Regions from separate parts of the Homo sapiens genome. Here regions 2, 3 and 4 are each linked to region 1. Evidence: promoter capture Hi-C in 16 types of primary human blood cells and fetal thymus (Javierre and others, 2016). All regions are on one chromosome and are shown on one strand. Each heading gives the region's core, a stretch centred on a gene start or on the middle of the fragment in contact. The rest is flanking DNA. Distances are from core to core; before and after follow the strand shown. Region 1 holds the start of NEB (nebulin). Region 2 overlaps CACNB4 (calcium voltage-gated channel auxiliary subunit beta 4). Region 3 overlaps NEB (nebulin). Region 4 overlaps CACNB4 (calcium voltage-gated channel auxiliary subunit beta 4).

Region 1 (2,935 bases), core at 436-2,935:
ATTATACTCTATCCAATCAATAGAATTATTTGTGGAAATTAGAGTAGGATATGTTTATGTGATGTTTCATAAAAATGTCTATTGCATATTAAGTATATCGATTTATGTCAATATCTATATTGAAAATATCTGAAACTTAAAAATGACTAAGAAGGTCAATGCTCATTTTTTACTTTATATAATTTTGTACTCTATGTTTTTAAAGTATGGGCCTGTATTATTTTTTAATTCAACAACACATTTTAAAGCATGTAATGACTAGTAAGTCACAATTCTAGTTTGCAGCTACCAAGTGAGTGATCTCATATTACATAAATATCCTTTGGTCATAAGACCTGTGAGAACATACAAGATGAACAGGTATAATCAGTTAAGATGATAAAATTCTGTTAGATTTTATTTACTACCATGTGAATCATGGAGGGGGAAAAGGTACATGTATTTGAAATATGAGATTACTTTCTCAAACTCCTGGCCTCAGACAATCTGCCCGCCTCGGCCTCCCAAAGTGTTGGGATTACAGGCGTGAGCCACCACGCCCAGCGAGATTACTTTCTAATGTTTAACTTAAAAAAGAAAAAATATTACAATATGTTTAATCTCAAATCCATATCAAGATATAGGTGACTCACAGGGTTTTGCCTGAATACAGGAGCAACCCAGAGAAAGAGCAGTTCTCTGTCACATAAGAGCCTGTGATTTCTGTCGCTGTGTGTAAGGACAGACAGACAGACAGATAGAATTAGATTTTAAATTAGAAAAAATACTTCAGGAGCAAAGAAAGTGCAAGAAAGACATCAGGCAAGTTTTAAGAAAATGGTTAGATAATTTTTATGAAGGAAATGTCTTACGTTCGGATTTGCCAAATAGGGCATTATTTTCTCCTGATAAGTTACTGATTTCCATGTTATCTGCTCTTGCTGTTCAGAAATTGAGCCTGTTTGTGTCCGCATTCACACGTTGCTTCTGGGAGCCAGGAGTCATCTGAGTTAATAGAAAAATCACTAACTCGGTTACATATGAGAGAGGTTCTGTATTCCTAGCAGCTTGCCTTATCTAAGGAGGGAGAAGGTGCTAAATAGGATTTTGGTATACCCTCTTGGTTTAGTAACAGAAAAATGATGGGGTCTAATCTTTCTAATTACACCCTGTGGATATCTTATTTAGTGCCATTGTCAAATATTTTCACCTTTAACTTCACTCATCACATTTTTAAAAATTGCTTTTGTCAACTTGATGTTTACTGGGTCTTATTCCTCAGTTTCTTTCACACTAGCACCAGTAACTTACCTGTAGCTCACCTGGTGAACCTTACCAGAGTGAGTACATTTACCACCATGACTGGACAAATGACATGAAGAAAGCAGTCACGGAAGGGTTAAAGCCTCTCAAAGTCATGCTTATTTTCTACTAAATTCTTTTGCATGAATATGACATTGAATGGGGCCTCAGTAAATGGGAAATTCAACCTAAAATTGAACTGCACAGGCTGGAAGTTAGGTAAAATTTGATTCCATTTGAATTGTTCTAAGCAAGCAATTTGTTACCCTTTATCCTTTAGTGGAATTGATGAACAGGTGGTTTTCAGAAGATCACTTGGTAAATTTAGCTTCTGAAATTTGAGCAACTCAAGATCTGATTGGTTGCTCTTGCCACATGATAATTCGGAGCCCAGGCATCACGCTGGCTTTTGCCTGGGGTTCTCAGGAGGGGAGAGTTGGGAGAGGCTTTGCTGCTGAGGAAATTTATTTGGTAGATTGAAGGTAAGGCCAGTTTATGACTTTTTCTGTAATACTCTTTCAGGAGATGCTCCACAACTTCCCTCGAAGTATTTTTCAAAGGTTTGGGCCATAACTGAGGAAATTAGTGGTAGAAATATGGCTAGGAGAGTTTAACCCCATTGCCCTACTAAGGCCCTACTAATATCTGCTATGTACCGTGTGTGATTAGAGTCAAGTCCTTTGCTAACCAATTTATTGCTTGACTGAATTGGCTCTCTTGTCTAACATTTTTTTGCCTTTGATATTTTTCTCTAAATATATTAGTGTGAAAAAGAAGATACGCTGCTCTACGTTCCTATATTTATCCTGTTCTACTGGGCTTCATTTGCCTGAGGAGTGGCAGTTTCGCTAGCTTAACAAAACCAGCCACTGCAGGGTATTGGTTTACATGGCAAACATCTTTGGATGAAGGGACAGCTGTTCCAACTCATCATCCACTTCATATCAAGAGTCTTACTCTCTGGCGTCAAACTGTAGAGGCCTTGAGAGATCCTTTCGCTGTTTTCTGCATTAGAAGCTTAGGCTAAGGACTGACAATCCTATATGTACCTCAATCAATGCTTTACAACTTTGTTATTTTTCAGGTTTGAACGAGAGCTACAGAAACGAAAGAAAAAGTCTGTATAAGCCAATGGTGTTCGGGAAGAAAATAACCCCATTGCCTTGAGGTTTCTTTTTTTCTTTTAAAATTTATTGACAGATGTATTTTTATGGGTTCCAATTTGAAGCCTAAGATATATTGCAAACAGTGGATCAGGGCAGTATGGAAAACTAAGTCAGCCCTCTTAGAATTTTGGTGCTGGGGGATAAATTTCAGCTTCTTCTGAAACCCAAGCTGACCTTTCACTAAAATTTTTGCTGGAAAATGTCTTTTCTCTAAGTGTTTGGAAGTTTAAATTCTCTGTTCCCTGAGTCCAAACTCTCTCACTTCCTTACCTCAATTTCGTTTTACAATTTTAACTAAACTGATTATGTAGAAGTAGCAATTCCCAACACTGAAGGAATAAAGAGAAAGAAATTTGAAGCTTCTGCTGTTTATACTTGTATTTTAAATGTCTTCTCTCCTTTAGCCTGCAACAATATATGAATTTGTACAATAGTTTAGCTTCAAATTCTATTTTTATAATGTCATAAGATAATTTCTGTGCTGGGAA
Region 2 (2,935 bases), core at 193-2,692, 220 kb before region 1:
TTATATTGCTTTTAACTAAAATATGTTCTGGCTGTAAGATGTACAACTAGTTGTTACATTTTTCATTTGAGTGCTGCATTTACATAGAGAAGCTGGCTTTCAAAATGCCAGCCAGCAGCCAACTCAAATGTGGAATATTTGAGTCTAACTTAGTGACTAGTTTTGTAAGATGTCTTGAGGAGGTTGGGGGAAGGGTACGCATGGGACACCTTGTTCTGGAAACTCAGCCAGAATTTTGTCAGCTGTGATTCATCTGATTCTTAGGGTATTTGAATTTCCAGTTCCTAATTTAGAGCTTGCAAAGATACTGTGAACCCAAAGCCTCACCTCCATGTATTTAATGGAAGATGTATAGTTTTGAAGTTCCAGATTGACTTCCGGCAGAAAATGAGGACATTCAGCAGGCTCTGGCTATAAACTATATCATTTCTTTAGAAGTATAAAAAGTGTCCATTATCCTATCAGCATTTGTGTTAAATGACTTCTGAGATTCTCTAATCAAGGATGTTGATAGACTTTGGAAGCATTTCCCAGATTACTGATTGGGCCTTCCTCGAGGTCCTTAGACTCCAAGGAATTATTGGACCTGTCTGCTATACTGGGAACAGATCAGACACTGATAGGTAGTTGTTATCTTTGTACCTACATTTAAAAATACCTAGCCTCCCATTTGAAAGGAGCCCTTTTTCTGTGATCACATACTGTATTGATGTTTCGCAGAACATACTGTGAGAGAAATTATTTGCAGTAGGTAATTGGGAGCCGTTCACAGATTTTTAAACTGGAAAGTGGTTTGATCAGCTGTGCATTGGTCAGGGTAGAAGATGGATTTGAGGAGAGGAAGAATTCAGGCAGGGAGTCCAAATAAAAAGCTGTGGAAATAGTACAGGTGTGAGCTGATGGAAGCCTGAACTAGGGCAGCAGTAGTGGGGATGGAGAGGAGGAGGTGAACTGAAAAAATATTTAAGTCATAAATGCAGCAGGTTTAATGGCTAATTAGCTTATGAAGGAAGAGGAACTCCCACTTTCGGCTTAGGTGACTGACCGGTTGGACAGTGATGCCACTGAGATTGGAAAACTAGGCCATTTCTTCTGATATCTTTTCCACTGACCCTGGGGATCTCAGGTTAGAAGCCAGGTCCCGGATTGAAGGCCTCAACCCTTTAGCCATTGGTTTCTGGCTAAGAAAGTTACTGACTTCATCCCAAGATCATGAAATAGTTTCGTTCTAGACAGCTGGGACTCCCGGTTACCAGGAACTTGCTGCCAAATAATCGGTTATGGCTCTATCTGTTCCGGGCCTGTACCTATCCTCATATACCCTATTATGCCATGTTTGGAAACTATAGAGGAAGCTTGCCATATATTATCCTTTTACATTAAATATTTCTTTTTCTATTTAGAAGTAGATTGTAACATTTTCCAGAGTCTCTCATACTTCTTATATGTGGTAGATGAGTTTCTAGCCATTAATTTATGCGCCTGTTGATACATGTGAAAAAAACAGGTCCCTAGTCAAATAAGCTTGATAATCACCATACTCCGTCCCTTTCTCAAAAGATTCACAGCACCCAGTAGCCCACTAATATCTGTTAGCATTCCACAATAAATAAACCAATTAAATTTTATTTAACCCCAAGATATTCCAAACCTACTTGATCTCAGAATCCATTTTTTTCCCTAAAGAATACCTATTAAGTACTTGAATAACTAGTATACTACAGAATACAATTAGGGAAATGCTGGTTTAGTTATTTACACCAGGCCTCATAATCACTGCAAACCATCTCAGTGTTGTAGACTGGAAGGATTTTGTGGGACAGAGTGAAGTTAACGTTAAATAGATACAGTATATATATTTCTGGGGCCTCCCTCTTAGGAGACTTTGATTCAGTTAGTTTGGAGTAAGGCTTAGGATTCATATTTTTGGCAAACGCTCCCCAAATCACTTTCATGTAAATTCTTTGAGAAATACTGGGTCAAATTATTGTCTTGGTCAGCTCGAGAGTTTGTGACAGTGCACACAGCACTTAGTTTCCCTGTTCTTTTAGCTTCTTGTCCACTTATTTGGGGTGGTAAGCACTTTGAAGTATGAATGTCTTTCTTTAAATAAAATGTAATTGGTTTATTCATCTCCCTATCCTTACCCTACCCTTGCTTGCCTCAAGATGGGCACTCAATAAATGGTTGTTGGAATGAATTGAAATTCAATAACTTTAATTCCTCCAGGAATCAAGAGGAATCTAGGGAATGGTCAGAAATGATTGAACACAATATATTTTATCAGGGATTCCCAAGGGACACACACACACACACACACACACACACACACACACACACACACGCCCAGCCACTCTACTTTTTTTTTCTTTGAAAAAATCAAAGTGAATTTAAAATTGGGGGTTAGCAGGTTTAGGAAATTAAAAGGCCTATATTCTTTCTTTTTTTTGAGATGGAGTCTGACTCTGTTGCCCAGGCTGGAGTGCAGTGGCACGATCTCGGCTCACTGCAACCTCCATTTCCCAGGTTCAAGTGATTCTCCTGCCTCAGCCTCCCAAGTAGCTGGGATTACAAGCATGCATCACCACGCCCAGCTAACGGCTAATTTTTGTATTTTTAATAGAGACTGGGTTTCGCCTTGTTGGTCAGGCTGGTCTTGAACTCCTGACCTCAGGTGATCCACCGCCTTGGTCTCCCACAGTGCTAGGATTACAGGCATGAGCCACTGTGCCCGGCTGGAAATTAAAAGGTCTGTATTCTTAAAAGAGCCAGAATATGATGAGACACTCAGCTATATTGATTGTAAAAATAATTGGTGGTAGTGTTAGTCTCCCTCCTCGCCTACAATCCTAGACCCTATTCCCTAGAGTAAACACTTGATAGTTTGTTTCTTTAATAACAGCTTCACTGCATATAATTCACATACCAAGGAATT
Region 3 (2,935 bases), core at 1-2,500, 200 kb after region 1:
GGCACTGGGTAAAAAGAAAAATACTTTGTTAAAACCTTCCCCTGCTACCTCTGATCAGAGAGCTCATTACTATAAATGGTGCTCAGCATCATCAAAACACAAAAGGCAGAGCTATTCTCTTAAAGTGTGTAACACATTGTGCCCCTCCACAAGACCTGTAGGTGGCTTGGTTGGAAATTGGGAAGACACTTAAGCTTGTCTCTCTCTTCTGCATTTATTTCTCAGAAAAAGTACAAGATTCAATATGAAAAGATGAAAGACAAGTACACTCCGGTTCCAGATACGCCAATCCTCATCAGAGCCAAGAGGGCTTACTGGAATGCCAGTGATGTATGCATCCCTTCCTTTTTTCTTCTGTTGTGATGGGGAGAGCTGAGGTTGAAGTACCTAAGAAACATAACATATTTCAGCCATATCCATAGTTCTAAACCATGGCCTAGGAAAAAAACACACATTTTTTTAAAGAGAAAAAAAAATGCCCAAACAATACTAGTCAGGCAAAATAGCTGAGAGATACCAGAAGCCTATTCTTCTCAATTCTCTCCTGAATAAAAATATGACCCTTTCTTATAATTCTTCAGCAGCATTTTCTGGGGATACTTGACAGTTAATTTACTTATCCATAAAATTATGGTCTTGCAGTCAGCCAGACATGGATTCAAATCCTGATGCTGTTACTTGCCTGCTGTATGACTCTATATCATCTGTCTAATTTTTCCGAGTCTCTTTTCATATATGTGGAATGATAATGAGAATTGTGATAATTAAATAAAACCAAACAAGATAATGTATAAGTGTCTAGCATGCTGCTGGGCTCCTAGTTACTCAGAAAATGTTTGTTCCCTTTTTTCTCTTAATTGCATATAGATCATGTGAATGATGCATGACACAGTGGTTAAAATTAGGGGGGACAGATGTTCATTTTCCATATCACACAATCGAGGGCAAGGCTGCCTTTTAATGGTAATAATCTGTTAATAATCTGTTAATGAAGATGTGAAGTAGTGAATCCAAGGTAAATAGCCAATCCTTACGGGTTTTGTGTCTCAGGGTCCAACCAGGAATTCACTGTACCCATTACCAGAGCCACACCCCTAGAGGACTAGACATGTTGGGACTTAAACTGAGCCAAAAATCAAGCCAACTTCATGACCCCCTCAACTTAGCAACATAGCTCTAGGATTTCAAGGCATCTTAAGGTAATTGCAGTAAGCCCGAGGCAGAAAAGAGAAGGCACAGCAAATGTGAACAATATCTCAGTTCCATAATTTTGTTAGGAATTTTTATTTGGAGAAGAGAAGAGCCTACTAGTTAGAAAAAGGCAATGCCAGTTAGTGCTTAAAATGTAAGCTGGGAAAAAATCATATACTCCCCTCAAAATCTACCTTCTAGGATATTTTTAGTCTTCTTGTGACATCCTTCATCATTATCACTTCAAAGTTACTGTTGAATATTTATTTGAACCAAGCTGAATTAATATCTTACAGCGGTGGCCACACATTGAAATTGGCCCTGGGATTCATCATGCCCCACTGGACAGCACCATCCCTAGGGCTTTATCAGTAGCAATTCTGATAACTCTAATCTTTACAATAGTCTAATGTAACAAGGGTAGTATCTGGCATTTAATTCAGTATTAACCATGGCTAGCCCCACAAGTAGATCTAAGCAATCTTATGATCCATCTAAAAAACAAAATTACAAAGTCAAAGAAAAGACATCTTTCACTGTGTGTTTGCTCAGTTAACCCCAAAAGAAAAGAACTGTTTGACGTTGAAAATAGGTTGTGCAGAGAAGCACCCATCTTGTGTAGATTAGATGAATCATCTATGATATTCTCAGGTTAGAATCAGAGCTGTTTTCTCTTGAAATATCACAAAGATAAAGATTATAATGAAATGAAGTTTTAAGACTGCTTAGTGAAGAAGGCATTTTAATACTAGGAGTTAGAAGCTAAACCTTTTTCCCTTTTCCATGTACATTAGCATATCTTGGGCTCAACAATGTTGTTTGTTTGGGTTTTTTTTTTCTCTCAAATGAACTTTTGGTTTATGTTTTATATTTAAATAAACTTTCTATTTTAAGTAGTCTTAGATTTACCGAAATTGTACAGAGTTATCACATGCCCCACACCCAGGGGAACACCCATATCCTCCTGTTGCTAACACCTGTATCACCATCGTAGATTTGCCATGATCAGTGAACCAAGATTGATACATTATGATCGGTTAAACTCCATAGTTGCTTTGGATTTCATTAGTTTTCCCTAGTGTTCTTTTTCTCTTCTAGGGTCTGAAATAAGCTTTTAAATTTTTCCTAAATGTATTCATGGGAAAACCAGAGAGAAGACAAGAGAGTTCATGCTTAAAAGAGCTCAATTATTTAACTTGGTAGTTTTTTTGTAATTCATGTGTTTTTTCTCTTTCTAGCTACGCTACAAAGAAACATTTCAAAAGACCAAAGGGAAATACCACACGGTGAAAGATGCCCTAGACATTGTCTATCATCGCAAAGTCACAGATGACATCAGTAAAGTATGTCCCTAAATATTTCTACTTGTGTTGGGCTCTACAACTCACCATATACATATACATATATTTTTTAGCAACCTCCCTCTTCTGAAATTCTCCAGAAAGAAGCCATATTTACATTAACTTTGGGTAAGACTTACAGCTGTCTTTGTGTTTTTTATAACAGATAAAATACAAGGAGAACTACATGAGCCAGTTGGGTATCTGGAGGTCCATTCCTGATCGTCCAGAGCATTTCCACCACCGAGCAGTCACTGACACAGTCAGTGATGTGAGTGTTGACATCTTCTATTTTCACATATAAATTCATATTCCCATATAAGCTCTGAAATCATACATGGCATAAAAACTGAAGAAACTCTTGGCTAGATTTTAGATTTTGTGTGTGGATGTTTAAATCATAA
Region 4 (2,935 bases), core at 277-2,776, 130 kb before region 1:
GTCTCCTGGCAGCAGTTCTATCCCCTAACGAGGGAAGAGGGAAGAGGGAAGAGGGTCTGGTGAACACTGCTGGTTTATTCCTCAACACCCTGGAGGAGAACCAAGGGGGGTGGAAATTAGCAATTGCACATGGTTAAGCATGAAAAACACCTTCCATGGTAACCTCCCCCTAGGAGACGAATGGCTACAATAAGGTCTTGGCTCATAGTACCCTTCCCTCCCTCCTCTCTCCCTTTTGACTTCTCTCTCTCTCTCTGCATGTGTTTGCCTCATTCTTTTTTTCTCACCTCTGCAAAGGTAACAGACATGATGCAGAAAGCCCTCTTTGATTTCCTGAAGCACAGGTTTGATGGGAGGTGAGAAATATAGATGTTTTTGTATTTTTATTTTCCTTTAACCAAACTTGTGTGATAAATTGAATTGTAGATCTATGTTTCCAGAGATTTCAGAAGTTCTCTAGTTAAAAGTTAACTCAGTATTCTTGGGAAGAATATAATAAAAGAACTCTGAAAATATGAAGTATAACATTGAGTCCCCAGTGAAGAAAGGACCATGAGAAGAAAAATAAGCCATTTGTTTTATTTAAATGTATATATCTTTATTTTCTCAGTTATTAATAATTTCATACCAAAATGTTTTTTATGAAAAAATATTAATTAAAATATATAATATTTCTCATGAGTATAGTGGCTTGCTGGTCAAACTAGGCAGTATTTGGGAATTGTGTATGTGTGTGTGTGTGTGTGTGTGTGTGTGTGTGTCATATGAAAGCATAAATGTCAAGTACTGAATTTCCTCAAAAGAAGAGAGTGAGAATTATTTTAATCATAAGCCTCCCAAAGTGATCATTTTGTAGGGAATAGTACTTATTTGGATATTTATTATAGTTGTGGGTTGTTTTTATTAGAAATGTCCTTGTTATTTTATTGATCTTTTTTTAATGTATTTTACTATGATCCATCAACAATATGGCTCAGGCATTAGCCATTAAATAATTTTATCATTTAAGTTTTGTGAAAAATTCTAAAGAAAGTTTCTCTGTTTTGCAGAGAAATGGTAAAAAGCCTGTATTGACTCAATTCTAAATATTAAGCTCTTTCACAGTGCTGAATGCAGTCCATGTAAAAATAACCACATGAAAAAACCTGAGATTTATCAGAAATGTAGGAAATTTAAATGGGGTGCATCAAAAAGTATGGGCAAATGCATCCAGTTTATTACTGTAGGATTGAAGAAAAACATCACATTCTTTATTTTTGAAGGCAGTAATTAAGCCATTCACTTTCTCTTTGCTAAATTATGAGAATCCACTAAATGCACAAAATAATTTTAAAATGTAAAAAAACTTCAGATAGATTTTAATAAATTGGTATATTAAGAATAAAAACAAGCATGGTATTGCTTTAAATATAAATTGTATGCATTTGTTAAAATAAAAGCTTTCTGGATAATTGGGTAAAATATTCATTAGTTTCTGGAACAATATAGAAAGTTAGTAAACAGATTTTAGTTTAAGAAATAAGAATGCTTCTAGGTACATTAGTATATAGGTCAGGCTGCCTTAATAAATAGACCCCAAAATGTGTAGTGATTCAAACACAATGGAAGCTTATTATTGCTCACTTAACAGTCTGAAGCAGGTGTTCCTTGGCTGGGAGGGAGGATAGAGTTGGGGGAGGGGAGAATTGGGCAGAAAGTTTGTTCCCTCTGTCATTTGGGGCCCTTAGCCCAGGTACGATGTCTCTAGTCAGCTTGCCCGGCCTGGAGGTAGCGCAACTGACATTTCACTGGTTAGAACTTGGTTATGTGGTCATACTTAATTGCAGCGGAGGCACTCTTGCAGTCCAGGAGGAAGAGGAGATAGAATTTGTTGAATCAATAATAGCCTTCGTCACATTCATCTACTGGACAAAGGCTTAATAAGAAAGATGTATTTGTTCCATTTCACTCTCTTTAAAAAAGAAATAGGCAGATAATGAAGTAGCTTCAAAGAAAATAAGTTAAAAGCCCTGAATCCTAGAGCATTGGAGTTGGAAGGATACATAAAATGTCTTTTAGACTCATCATTTCTCCAATAACCACAATCAGATAGACAACCTGCTTCTGTTTGAAACTTTTGGTTATTGGGATTACACTTTCTAAAAAAGCATTGCAAAAAAATAGCTGAACTCTGACTTTGTAACTTAATAGGGCTGGTCTTGGTCTTGCTGTCTGATGCTCTGGCCTTAACCCTAACCCTCATGCAGGTCCCTGTGGATTGAAGGCAGCCAGCATGCCTTGGTCGCACGTGCATAGTTCCTTCAGATATGTATGGAGTCACATGGTTTCAACCTGTGGAGCTGTTACCTAAGGCAGTTCTGAGCAGTGCCGAATCCACTGGCCCCATAACAGCCCTATCTGAACAAATCCCATCCCATAAGACAGTGTTAGATTATTTTGGTCTATAACATACTTATACGCAACAGTGCTGTTAAAGGTTTGCCCTCAAGAATGAAGAATCTGATGTTCTTCCTCAATCCTGAGGCCCAGAAAAAGGGAATTTATTTAATTGTAACAGCAGAGATTTGTCTCGAATCAAGTAGAATTGTCGCATCCATTACTGTACACATACTACTGAAGTTGGTTTTAATAGAAATTGAATGCAAATTTCAATCTCAAGTATTCATGGGGTCTGATGACATGGCAGAGGGTCTGGAGGAAGAGCCCAGCAGTAGCAAAAGTAATAGCTGAAGAGAGAGACTTAGCCCTGGAGAAATCTGATATATTTCTCCAGCAGGAGAAAGATAGGTAGATATTAAAGGGGTGAGGGGTGAGAGAATGGACTTGATTTCAAATATTAAGAGGCCAGGCAGCAGAATGAACAATAAGGAGTTCCTTGGTTGAGTGTATGTGGAGACTTTGATAAGAAAGAAATTCGCTGGTAGCGTCACACTGA

Evidence for each region. The method cuts DNA at HindIII sites, captures the fragments that hold promoters and counts their contacts. A CHiCAGO score of 5 or more calls a contact.
Region 2: a fragment that was not itself captured here is called in contact with the fragment with the promoter of NEB in region 1 in 4 of 17 cell types (endothelial precursors, naive B cells, total B cells and 1 more); the score reaches 6.5 in endothelial precursors.
Region 3: a contact is called between a fragment that was not itself captured here and the fragment with the promoter of NEB in region 1, in 1 of 17 cell types (M2 macrophages). The highest score is 5.1, in M2 macrophages.
Region 4: a contact is called between a fragment that was not itself captured here and the fragment with the promoter of NEB in region 1, in 1 of 17 cell types (total B cells). The highest score is 6.3, in total B cells.

Annotation. Positions count from the first base shown.
Region 1 is chr2:151,733,226-151,736,160 of GRCh38, reverse strand. It overlaps NEB (nebulin), which reads left to right and starts at 1,685. Exons shown (of 182, transcript NM_001164508.2): 1 at 1,685-1,763; 2 at 2,366-2,449. The HindIII fragment of the contact is 3,549 bases long and covers 1-2,300 here.
Region 2 is chr2:151,956,667-151,959,601 of GRCh38, reverse strand. All of the region lies in intron 2 of CACNB4 (calcium voltage-gated channel auxiliary subunit beta 4), which reads left to right. Among named protein-coding and RNA genes, the nearest start is that of ARL5A, 130 kb to the right of the region's middle. The HindIII fragment of the contact is 169 bases long and covers 1,358-1,526 here.
Region 3 is chr2:151,537,739-151,540,673 of GRCh38, reverse strand. NEB (nebulin) reads left to right here. Exons shown (of 182, transcript NM_001164508.2): 138 at 226-330; 139 at 2,430-2,534; 140 at 2,698-2,802. It overlaps LOC124906081 (a long non-coding RNA gene), which reads right to left. Exons shown (of 3, transcript XR_007087266.1): 2 at 1-2,856. Among named protein-coding and RNA genes, the nearest start is that of RIF1, 130 kb to the right of the region's middle. The HindIII fragment of the contact is 2,108 bases long and covers 197-2,304 here.
Region 4 is chr2:151,866,598-151,869,532 of GRCh38, reverse strand. It overlaps CACNB4 (calcium voltage-gated channel auxiliary subunit beta 4), which reads left to right. Exons shown (of 14, transcript NM_000726.5): 9 at 298-356. Among named protein-coding and RNA genes, the nearest start is that of ARL5A, 40 kb to the right of the region's middle. The HindIII fragment of the contact is 169 bases long and covers 1,442-1,610 here.